Linked DNA regions of Homo sapiens: all the other regions are linked to region 1. Evidence: promoter capture Hi-C in 16 types of primary human blood cells and fetal thymus (Javierre and others, 2016). All regions are on one chromosome and are shown on one strand. The core of a region is centred on a gene start or on the middle of the fragment in contact, and the rest is flanking DNA. Distances in the headings are between cores, read along the strand shown.

Region 1 (3,330 bases), core at 302-2,801:
AATAGATTGATTTCACCCCACAAATAAAAAAAGAGCGTTTATTAAGACAAAGAGGAAAGAGGGAGAGAAAAATAATTGCTCTCTGCTGTGTGAATCTTGTTTGCATATTTCTTATGGGATAACTGATTAGCTGGCAGGCAGTAAAGAGGTCATTCTGGACACATTGTCCTTGGGTAGGCTGACTAGGCATACAAAAAATCCTGCAAGGCAGGCTGTTTCTCCGTATTGTCTGCCAGTGACCTTTCATCAGTACTTTATCTTAGTTGAACCAGAACTACACTCCTTCCCTCGCTAGAAGTCTCAGTATATATGATGTATTCCTCTAAGAGGAATCCTTTTTCTCTAAATCTGTACTTCTGAGCCTGTATTTGAAAGTGATCATAATCTGGGGGGCTTAAAATGGAGTTTCTTTTACAAAGAGTTATAATCATAACCGTTTATTTGAATATAAATTTGACATTAAACATAAATATGCAAAATTTAAATTTCCCTTTGGTCTTGCATTTTTCTAAGGATTAACACCATTATTCTCACACTCCAACAAACTAATATATTGTACTGATAATCACTATCAAATGAATTGTAAGAGCTAACTGACTCGAATAGACAATAACTAACCTTACTTTTAAAGTATTTTAAGAGACAGTAGCATAGATGCCTGCACATAGCTGATTATTGCTCCTGTGCTGCAGTGAATTACCACATGAACACATTTTGAAAAGATTTGTTAGCTTCATGTCCACAGGCATTATGAAGCAGGAACCACTTTTAGATTAAGATTGTAACCTGAGGAAAAGAACATATGCATCAGTTTAGAAATTAAAATCCCCTGAGATATTTCTTTCAGTAATGCTTAAAAGCCTAAATTTGTGCTCGTGTGCCAGTCACCTCTACGTAAGGAAAAACATTTTGCTACTCTTTGTTAAAAGTGAAGAGGAAATATTGTCCACTTGTTTTGTAGATGTTGGCCAAATTATATAAACTTTAAAATCTGTAAGACAAATTGAAATATTCCTTTATTATGTCTTGTTAGGATGAGAGAAGTTTGCCTTTCAGCTGCTCCTTAATTTTAAAAATAACAACACAGCAACACTTCTCTTTAAAATCAAACTCTGCTCATTTAAATTCTTTGGTAATAGCCATGAATCCACACCTTAAAAGAAGGAAGGCCTGTGAGTTCGTGAATCCACTTTCCTACTCAGGAGAAGCCCTATGAACTGACTTGAATAGACAGTAACTCACCTTAAAGTAAATATTTTCAGAAACAATAGGTTAGGTGCCTTAGAAATTCATTCAGAGGCTTAGAAATCCACATTAACACAGTTCTTACATGCTTGAGTCTGGTCTACATCCATTTACGTAAGTAAAACTCCCCTTCCAGACTGACGAAATTCTTTTTGTGACAAGAAGACAAAGGAATACGATGGATTGATAAGCGTAGTCAACCGCGCAGAGAGTTCTCGCGCGATGTTACGACGCTACCGCCCTGACATCACCAGTTGCCATGGTAGCACCGCCGAGAGTAAAGGAGGGGTGGTGCTAGACGTTTCGGGCAGAGCTCGGCCGCTGCGGAGGACAAGGAACTCTCCCTCTCCCACTAGTCTGACTTCTTCCAAAATGAGCGGCCTGGATGGGGGCAACAAGCTCCCTCTCGCCCAAACCGGCGGCCTGGCTGCTCCCGACCATGCCTCAGGAGATCCGGACCGAGACCAGTGCCAAGGGCTCCGTGAAGAAACCGAGGCGACACAGGTGATGGCGAACACAGGTGGGGGCAGCCTGGAGACCGTTGCGGAGGGGGGTGCATCCCAGGATCCTGTCGACTGTGGCCCCGCGCTCCGCGTCCCAGTTGCCGGGAGTCGCGGCGGTGCAGCGACCAAAGCCGGGCAGGAGGATGCTCCACCTTCTACGAAAGGTCTGGAAGCAGCCTCTGCCGCCGAGGCTGCTGACAGCAGCCAGAAAAATGGCTGTCAGCTTGGAGAGCCCCGTGGCCCTGCTGGGCAGAAGGCTCTAGAAGCCTGTGGCGCAGGGGGCTTGGGGTCTCAGATGATACCGGGGAAGAAGGCCAAGGAAGTGACGACTAAAAAACGCGCCATCTCGGCAGCAGTGGAAAAGGAGGGAGAAGCAGGGGCGGCGATGGAGGAAAAGAAGGTAGTGCAGAAGGAAAAAAAGGTGGCAGGAGGGGTGAAAGAGGAGACACGGCCCAGGGCCCCGAAGATCAATAACTGCATGGACTCACTGGAGGCCATCGATCAAGAGTTGTCAAACGTAAATGCCCAGGCTGACAGGGCCTTCCTTCAGCTTGAGCGCAAGTTTGGCCGCATGCGAAGGCTCCACATGCAGCGCAGAAGTTTCATTATCCAGAATATCCCAGGTTTCTGGGTTACTGCCTTTCGAAACCACCCCCAGCTGTCACCTATGATCAGTGGCCAAGATGAAGACATGCTGAGGTACATGATCAATTTGGAGGTGGAGGAGCTTAAACACCCCAGAGCAGGCTGCAAATTCAAGTTCATCTTTCAGGGCAACCCCTACTTCCGAAATGAGGGGCTTGTCAAGGAATATGAACGCAGATCCTCTGGCCGGGTGGTGTCTCTTTCCACTCCAATCCGCTGGCACCGAGGCCAAGACCCCCAGGCTCATATCCACAGAAACCGGGAAGGGAACACTATCCCTAGTTTCTTCAACTGGTTTTCAGACCACAGCCTTCTAGAATTCGACAGAATTGCAGAGATTATCAAAGGAGAACTGTGGCCCAATCCCCTACAATACTACCTGATGGGTGAAGGGCCCCGTAGAGGAATTCGAGGCCCACCAAGGCAGCCAGTGGAGAGCGCCAGATCCTTCAGGTTCCAGTCTGGCTAATCTCTGTCCTGTGAGAAGCTTCTGCACAAGTTTCCTTACCACCTCCTCTTGGACCTATGCTTGGCCAACAGCATGCAGTCTTCCATCTGCTTTCTCTTCATACTGTGGATTATCTTTTCCTTTGGTTCTAAATCTTCAGTAATCGGTTGCAAGATTGTTGGCTTACCTGCCTGTGCCATTCTTCCTCTGGGCCTTCATGCTTTTCTGCATTGTGTTAACATGTTTCAAGTGCATGGCCTTCTACGGCTTCTATGCCAAGCGTATGATACTATAGATATAGTGTACCATACTGCCTTTCTTTGCATGGCTTGGACCCTATCTGTGACCATGCTCTTCTCCCAATTTAAGTGGTTCTGTACCACAAAGAATCTTGATACATTTTCACAAATAACTGATTGGGCTTCATACTTTATGCTGGCTGTGTCCTGATACCCATGTACTTATGGTAAGCTATTTGGGTATTACCAC
Region 2 (3,330 bases), core at 546-3,045, 240 kb before region 1:
GACATAGAAATTTTGAATTGCTTCATAGCATGAGCTTTGAAAGGTTTATAAATCAGCCAGAAATTTGAAATGCAGGGCATGAAGGCTTAAAGGTTTTTTTTTCCTTTTGCTTATAAATCACGCATTTTCAATCTCATGTCCACAAAATTTCATATGCAAATAGCTCCTTACAAGATAGCAGGCAGGAATTCCACATCTTACACTATCCATCCTCAGAGAAGCTGTTCATTCCATTCACGTATGGTAATGGGAAAAAAAAGCAGCACAAATACAAACAGTTGTGTATTTGTCTCTTTGCTGAAAAAAAAAGAATGAAATGATATAGCATAGAGTTTCCTATATATAGACAGTAGTTTCTAGATACTGTATATTGCATTCCTTAAATAAATAATTCCATATTTCTAAAAAAATATGATTTGATTTTTCTCATGTATTAGCTTGGCTTATAGCTTTAGCCTTCTGACGCTACCCTTGATTTGTAATCACCAAGTCAAGCTATTTATTCAATGATAATTTTGAAACATTTATAAATAACATTTAATTTTAATTTATTTAGTTTTAATATAGCTGGCATCAACCAAATTCCTTCCTTTTCTCATGAAATATTGCTTGATGGTCAGGCCAGGAAACTTCTAAAATAAAGGATAAATAATATTCTTTGAAATTACTTTCTTACCCCAAAGCTTATTAATTCAGAATTTCTACTATCATTTTCATCCTCTAAAAAATCTTCCAAAGGATGTTTTCTTTGTGACCAGAACACATTTAAAATTCAAGTGTACCGAATTAAATACACAGTAATCTTCACCAGACCACTGGCACACAAGGGCGGCCTACAAGGCAGCCCAGAATCTACTGGGCTCTGCAGAGAGCCCAAATTGCAAGTACAAGTTATAATTAGTGTGATACCACCCTACGGAATTGGAGAAAATATTTGTAAACTATGTATCTGACACCCTTGTGCTATTAATAACCAGAATATATAAGGAGTTCAACCAACTCCATAGGAAAAAATTAAAATTAATAATCCAATTAAAGATGGGCAAAAGATCTGAATAGACATTTCTCAAAAGAAGACATACACATACAAATGGCAAACAGGTATATGAAAAGGTGCTCAACATCATTGGTCATCAGAGAAATGCAAATCAAAACTATAATGAGATATTATCTCACCCTAGTTAAAAATGGCTTTTATCCAAAACAGGCAATAGTGAATGCTTGCAAAGATGTGGAGAAGAGGGAACTCTGGTACACTGTTGGTGGGAATGTAAATTAGTATAACCACTATGGAGAACGGTTTGGAGGTTCCTCAAAAAACAAAAAATAGAATGATCATATGATCCAGCAATCCCACTGCTGGATATATACCCAAAATAAAGGAAATCAGTATATCAAAGAGATATCTGCACTCCCATGTTTACTGCAGAACTACTGACGATAGCTAAGATTTGGAAGAAATCTAAGTGTCCTTCAATAGATTAATGAAATAAAGAAAATATGGTACATATACACAATGGAGTACTATTCAGCCATAAAGAAGAATGAGATCCTGTCATTTGCAAAACATGGATGGAACTAGAGGTCATTATGTTCAATGAAATATGTCAGGACAGAAAGACAGACTTTGCATGTTCTCATTTATTTGTAGGAGCTAAAAATTAAAACAGTGGACTCATGGAGATATGGAGTAAAATGATGGATATCAGAGGCTGGGAAGGGTAGTTTCAAGAGGAGTGGAGATGGTTAATGGGTACAAAAATATAGTTAGATAGAATGAATAAGATCTGGGTCGGGCATGGTGGCACAAGCCTGTAATCTCTGCACTTTGGGATGCCAAAGTGGGAGGATTGCTTGAGCTCAGGAGTTTGAGACCAGCTTGGGTAACATAGACCCCTGTCTCTACAAAAAAAAAAAAAAAAAAAAAAAAATATATATATATATATATATGTATGTATAGTGCATACCTGTGGTCCCAGCTACTCAGGAGGCTGAAGTGGGAGGATTGATTAAGGCCAGGAGGTTGAGGCTGCAGTGAGCCATGATTGTGCCACTGCCCTCCAATCCGGGCAACAGAGTGAGACCCTGTCTTAAAAAAAAAATGTACAAGAATGAATAAGATCAAGTATTTGACAGTGCAACAGGGTAAGTACAGTTGATAATAATTTTTTGTACATTTAATAGTAATTAAGATAAAAATGGATTGTTTGTGACAGAAAAGATAAATGCTTGAGGTAATGGATACCCCATTTACCCGATGTGATTGTTATGTATTGTATGCCTGTATGAAAATATCTCATGTACCCCATAAATAAATATAGCTACTATGTACCCACAAAAAAATAAAAATTAAAAAATAATCAAAATAAATAAAACTGGTATAAGTGATATGTTCGTGATAGACGTCAATTAGGATTCAGGAGCCTGTTCTGAGTCCCTGTCCAGTTCTGTTTCTAGGGGCTTCAGCTGATCCTGAGTAGTGACTGATCCTGGGCAAGGCACATAATCTCTCTCTCTCTCTCTGTCTCTCTCTCTCTCTCTCTTTCCCCACCCCTTTAAAATCAGGATGCAATAAATGTCTAAAACTGTACCAATGGGTACAGTTTAAACGATATAAATGACCACTGAAATTCTACATTTTTGGACTTTAGAACACTGCAGGGAAATTGTTTGTTCTCCACTTAGTCAACTGTCTCTTAAAAAGGACATTGCAATAGGCATAAAGGAAATAGGGTCATTGGCACACAGCTGAGGCATCGATGGAAGAACCTTCAAACCTGCTCCACAGAAGACCAGGAATAGAATCTGGAAGAAGATATCTGACATTAGAAGGAGTATCACAATGTCATGTATTTTAAACTGATGCCTCCATAAGAATTCTTGCCTACACTCTATCCTAAAGCTTCTTTTTAGGATTTTTTCCATCTTCTGCTCAGTTGCCTCTTTCTCATTTATAATATATGCATTCCTCCCAGGAACCCAAGATATTCATGCCTAAGGCCCTCCCTCTTAAATTAGCACCCAACTAGCTATCCTGAAAATATTCCAGGCCTTGGGGTATTCTCCTACCTGTCTACACCTTCCTCTTCTTTCTCTCCTAACCCAACCATCAAAAGTCCCTTGGCCCAAAGTCTTTGTTCCCCACCCTGCTGAAGACAGCTTAATCTGGTATGCTCAGTGATGCTGGGTATAGGAACTGATGATGGCTTCAGGATGAGGCTTGTTCCCCATCCCTTGTTTTTCTCACCGTGGAAGGAGGGGAGCCTCTTGGCATTGAATATATTAGAATTATGAGAACCACCTATAGAATTTTATATTTTCTTATAGCCA
Region 3 (3,330 bases), core at 588-3,087, 190 kb before region 1:
ACATAAAAACTGATCAAATAAACATAAGAATGATTTTAAAAACCAAAGAAAAATATACAACAGACAAGATAAACTGTGAAATAGTCAAACAAGAAAATACTATATAGCAAAGTAAATAAATAAATATCAACAAGGATGAATCTTTAAAACAAAACATTGAGCAATAAAACTTAAACACAAAGAATATGTTCAGTATTATTCCATTTATAAAAAGTTCAGAACTAGTCTAAATAGACTGTCTTTTCTGAGTATGTATACATAAGTGAAAAAACTAAGGAACAACAAAGAAGTGATTAAGAATCAGGACAGTGGTTATCATTTTTGGGGCTTCCATGACATATGACTGGGGAGGAGATGAAGGGTTTTCACAATGTTATATGTTACAGAGGTGTTTACAATTATGCTTTATACACTATATCTGTTTTAATGTTTTAGTATTTTTTCCTCATTAAGGATTATATTTCTTAATTTTTATGGCAAGAGAAAGACAGCAATCCAATTACATTATTTTCCAACTGAAAACCTCCAATACTTCCAGTTTTCCAGAGGACAACTTCCATATCCCTACATTGGCACAGAAGCTTGTCCCAGACTTGCTCCACACATCTCCACCCCACTTCATCCCATGCACCCCGGTTTCCAGCACCACTGACCCCCTTACTTTTCCTGTGCATACACATCACAGTCTTCCTCAATACCATGCCTTCTCACTTGTTTTTCTTTCTTCCTTAAATGACATTTCTGTTTTTCACCTGGCAAACTACTCTCTTCCTTTAATACTCAGTCTGATGTAACTTCTTCATTCAAGTCATCTTCAAAACCCCCAGAGTTAGCATTTCTATTTTTTTTGCTCTCACACCATTTAAAAAGAAATAACTGTGCAATAGTTCTTGACATGCCTATTGCAACATTCCTTTCCAGGGATCTGTCTCTCCTACTATGGTGGGAGCTCCCAGGGATCCAGGGCCTCTTCTCATTCATCATTGCTTCCCTCAGTAGAGTCAGCTGCTCTCTGACCACAACTCTCTTTCCACACACGAAGTAGACCTCACTACATTGTATATTATCTTTATCTACTTACAGAGCTGTCTCAAGCTATGTTGTGCAATTTTATGAGAATTAAAAATGAGATAGTATGAAAAACCCAGCACAGTGTTTAGAATATTTTAGTTTCAGTTACATTTTTTAAAAGGTTTTTTTAAAAAGTAGTGACTCAGAAATGTGCTAGAGGGTGCTGATTCACTGTTTTGTTATAGACGATGGTACTCAGGTTGTTAACATTTGACTTGCTCATCTAACCAGGAGCCAAAGAAATAATCAGATTTTTAGTAAGCAAAATATCAGCCATTTTTATTTAATAAATAAATTAATACATTTCAAGTGTTTGTGTCTATAGTTGACTTGAAATTATTTTGGGGAAGAATAAGACAACAACCAGATTGATGGCTGACGGCATGATGTTGCTTGTTTTAGTCCCTGTTTGTATATATCCCCCAATCCCCCAACCTAAGGTTTGTCCGACAAGCAGTGAAAACTCAAAGCAGGCAGTGTTGATTTTGGCAGTGCCCCAACTTTCCTTAAAGTAAAGAAATGCCAAACAAAGTGTTTCCTCAACTGTCAAATGGGAAGGCTGAACTAGATCATCTTTGGGGTCCCTTTCAATTCTAACATGCTATAATACATACTTCTAGTTCGTTAAAAAAAAGAAACAGGCATGACCTCTTTAAAAACCACACACATACATACATTCGACCAAGAACTGACAAAATTCAATGAAAAGTAAACCAAAAAAAATTTTAAATCTGCCTTAACAGAAAAAAAAAAAAAGAAGAAAAACCAAACTGGAGTTCCATTTATTCCTTCCATGTAAAGCTGGGTTTAAAAAAGCAATATGAGTGACAAATGATTGACTGCTTGAAAGATGTATTGATTGTGAGATATTTTCTAGTTTCTTCTGTATCTCCACATCTTCTGTTAATAATTATTCTAGCTAAATCTTCTCTTCTTTAGGAGAGGATGATAAAGTAGGTTTATGTTATATAAAGCATTGGTCAGCTGATTGAAAGCGTTTTACAATGACTCCATTCACTTCAACCACCTGAAAAACCACAAACATTTATGACAGTCTTAAAAGTCCAGGAAACAATACTAAATTAAGAGATGGAGACTGCAGATAAATATATTAGTAAATAATTTGCTTTTATGTTTATGAAGCTCAATCAAAGTGACTCACAGTTTGGGTGCAAGATGAGAGTAGACACAAAAAGCAGAAGTCTGGTTTTGCAACTGATTATTTTATGATGTCTGTAGGCTGTGCTGCAGGATCCTAAACTATGACAAATAGTTATAGTAATTTCTAAAATGTGAGGATGTTCAGTAGTCTTTTTTTTTTTTTTTTTTTTTGAGATAGGACCTGACTCTGTGCCCAGGCTGGAGTGCAGAGGCCTGATCTTGGCTCACTGCAACCTCTGCCTCCTGGGACTCAAGCAATCTTCCCACCTCAGCCTCCACAGCAGCTGGCACTACAGGCGTGCACCACCACACCCAGCTAATTTTTGTATTTTTAGAAGAGACAGGGTTTCACCATGTTGCCCAGGCTGGTCTTGAATTCCTGGGCTTAAGCTATCCGCCACCTCAGCCCCACAAAGTATGGGATTACAGGTGTGAGGTACATCACCTGGCCCAGTAGTCTATCTTTAACAAAGATAATCTACTTTGACAATTTTTTTGCTTGTTCACTTAAGTTTCATGAGATTAAAGGCAAACAATTATGGTGAAAGTTTAATAGTTTTGATGTAACTATGCTTATAACTCAGTATTTTTAATGATTATAATGTAGCATTTTGAGCACTCTAAATAATTAAAATTCAAGTTTAGACATTGTTTTATTTTGAGTTTTATGCTCTAATCCATAATTACTGTTGGCTGTATGTCTCTGGTCACAGTTCTTAGCCTCTCTGAACCTAGCTTCCTAATTTATAAGATGGGGCTGTAGCTATTATTTTCCTTACAGTATGCAGATGCGTACAAATTTCTTCAAACTTTGCTAGGCTTCAGTAAGACTGCTATTATCATTGCTATCTAGTAAGCTTTAGCATAATAATGGCGTAAACTTGGACTAGGCAATGTTTTTATGAATTTTAGCACATTTTATAAAATAAGCCTGCATGTGGGCTCATTGCATACCATTTAAGAAACAAAACTTCTTTTACAGAATTATATTCTTTCATTCCCTACTTCTTCCTCTGACATCCAAATAATTTTTTTAATTAAAAATGACCTATCTTCAGTAGTGAATTCACGAAGGTCCTCTCATCATCCATAAGACTC

Evidence for each region. Contacts are between HindIII fragments. The CHiCAGO score rates a contact against its expected background, and 5 or more counts as called.
Region 2: a fragment that was not itself captured here is called in contact with the fragment with the promoter of TSPYL4 in region 1 in 1 of 17 cell types (total B cells); the score reaches 5.2 in total B cells.
Region 3: a contact is called between a fragment that was not itself captured here and the fragment with the promoter of TSPYL4 in region 1, in 2 of 17 cell types (total B cells and monocytes). The highest score is 6.4, in total B cells.

Annotation. Positions count from the first base shown.
Region 1 is chr6:116,252,296-116,255,625 of GRCh38, reverse strand. It overlaps TSPYL4 (TSPY like 4), which reads left to right and starts at 1,551. Exons shown (of 1, transcript NM_021648.5): 1 at 1,551-3,330. The coding sequence starts at 1,618. The coding sequence ends at 2,862. It also overlaps a transcript of DSE not described here. RefSeq lists enhancers at 1,180-1,409, 1,820-1,979. The HindIII fragment of the contact is 9,221 bases long and covers 1-2,882 here.
Region 2 is chr6:116,493,563-116,496,892 of GRCh38, reverse strand. TRAPPC3L (trafficking protein particle complex subunit 3L) reads left to right here. Exons shown (of 5, transcript NM_001139444.3): 5 at 1-1,904. Among named protein-coding and RNA genes, the nearest start is that of CALHM5, 16 kb to the left of the region's middle. The HindIII fragment of the contact is 2,219 bases long and covers 686-2,904 here.
Region 3 is chr6:116,445,467-116,448,796 of GRCh38, reverse strand. No RefSeq gene overlaps it. Among named protein-coding and RNA genes, the nearest start is that of CALHM6, 14 kb to the left of the region's middle. The HindIII fragment of the contact is 2,508 bases long and covers 584-3,091 here.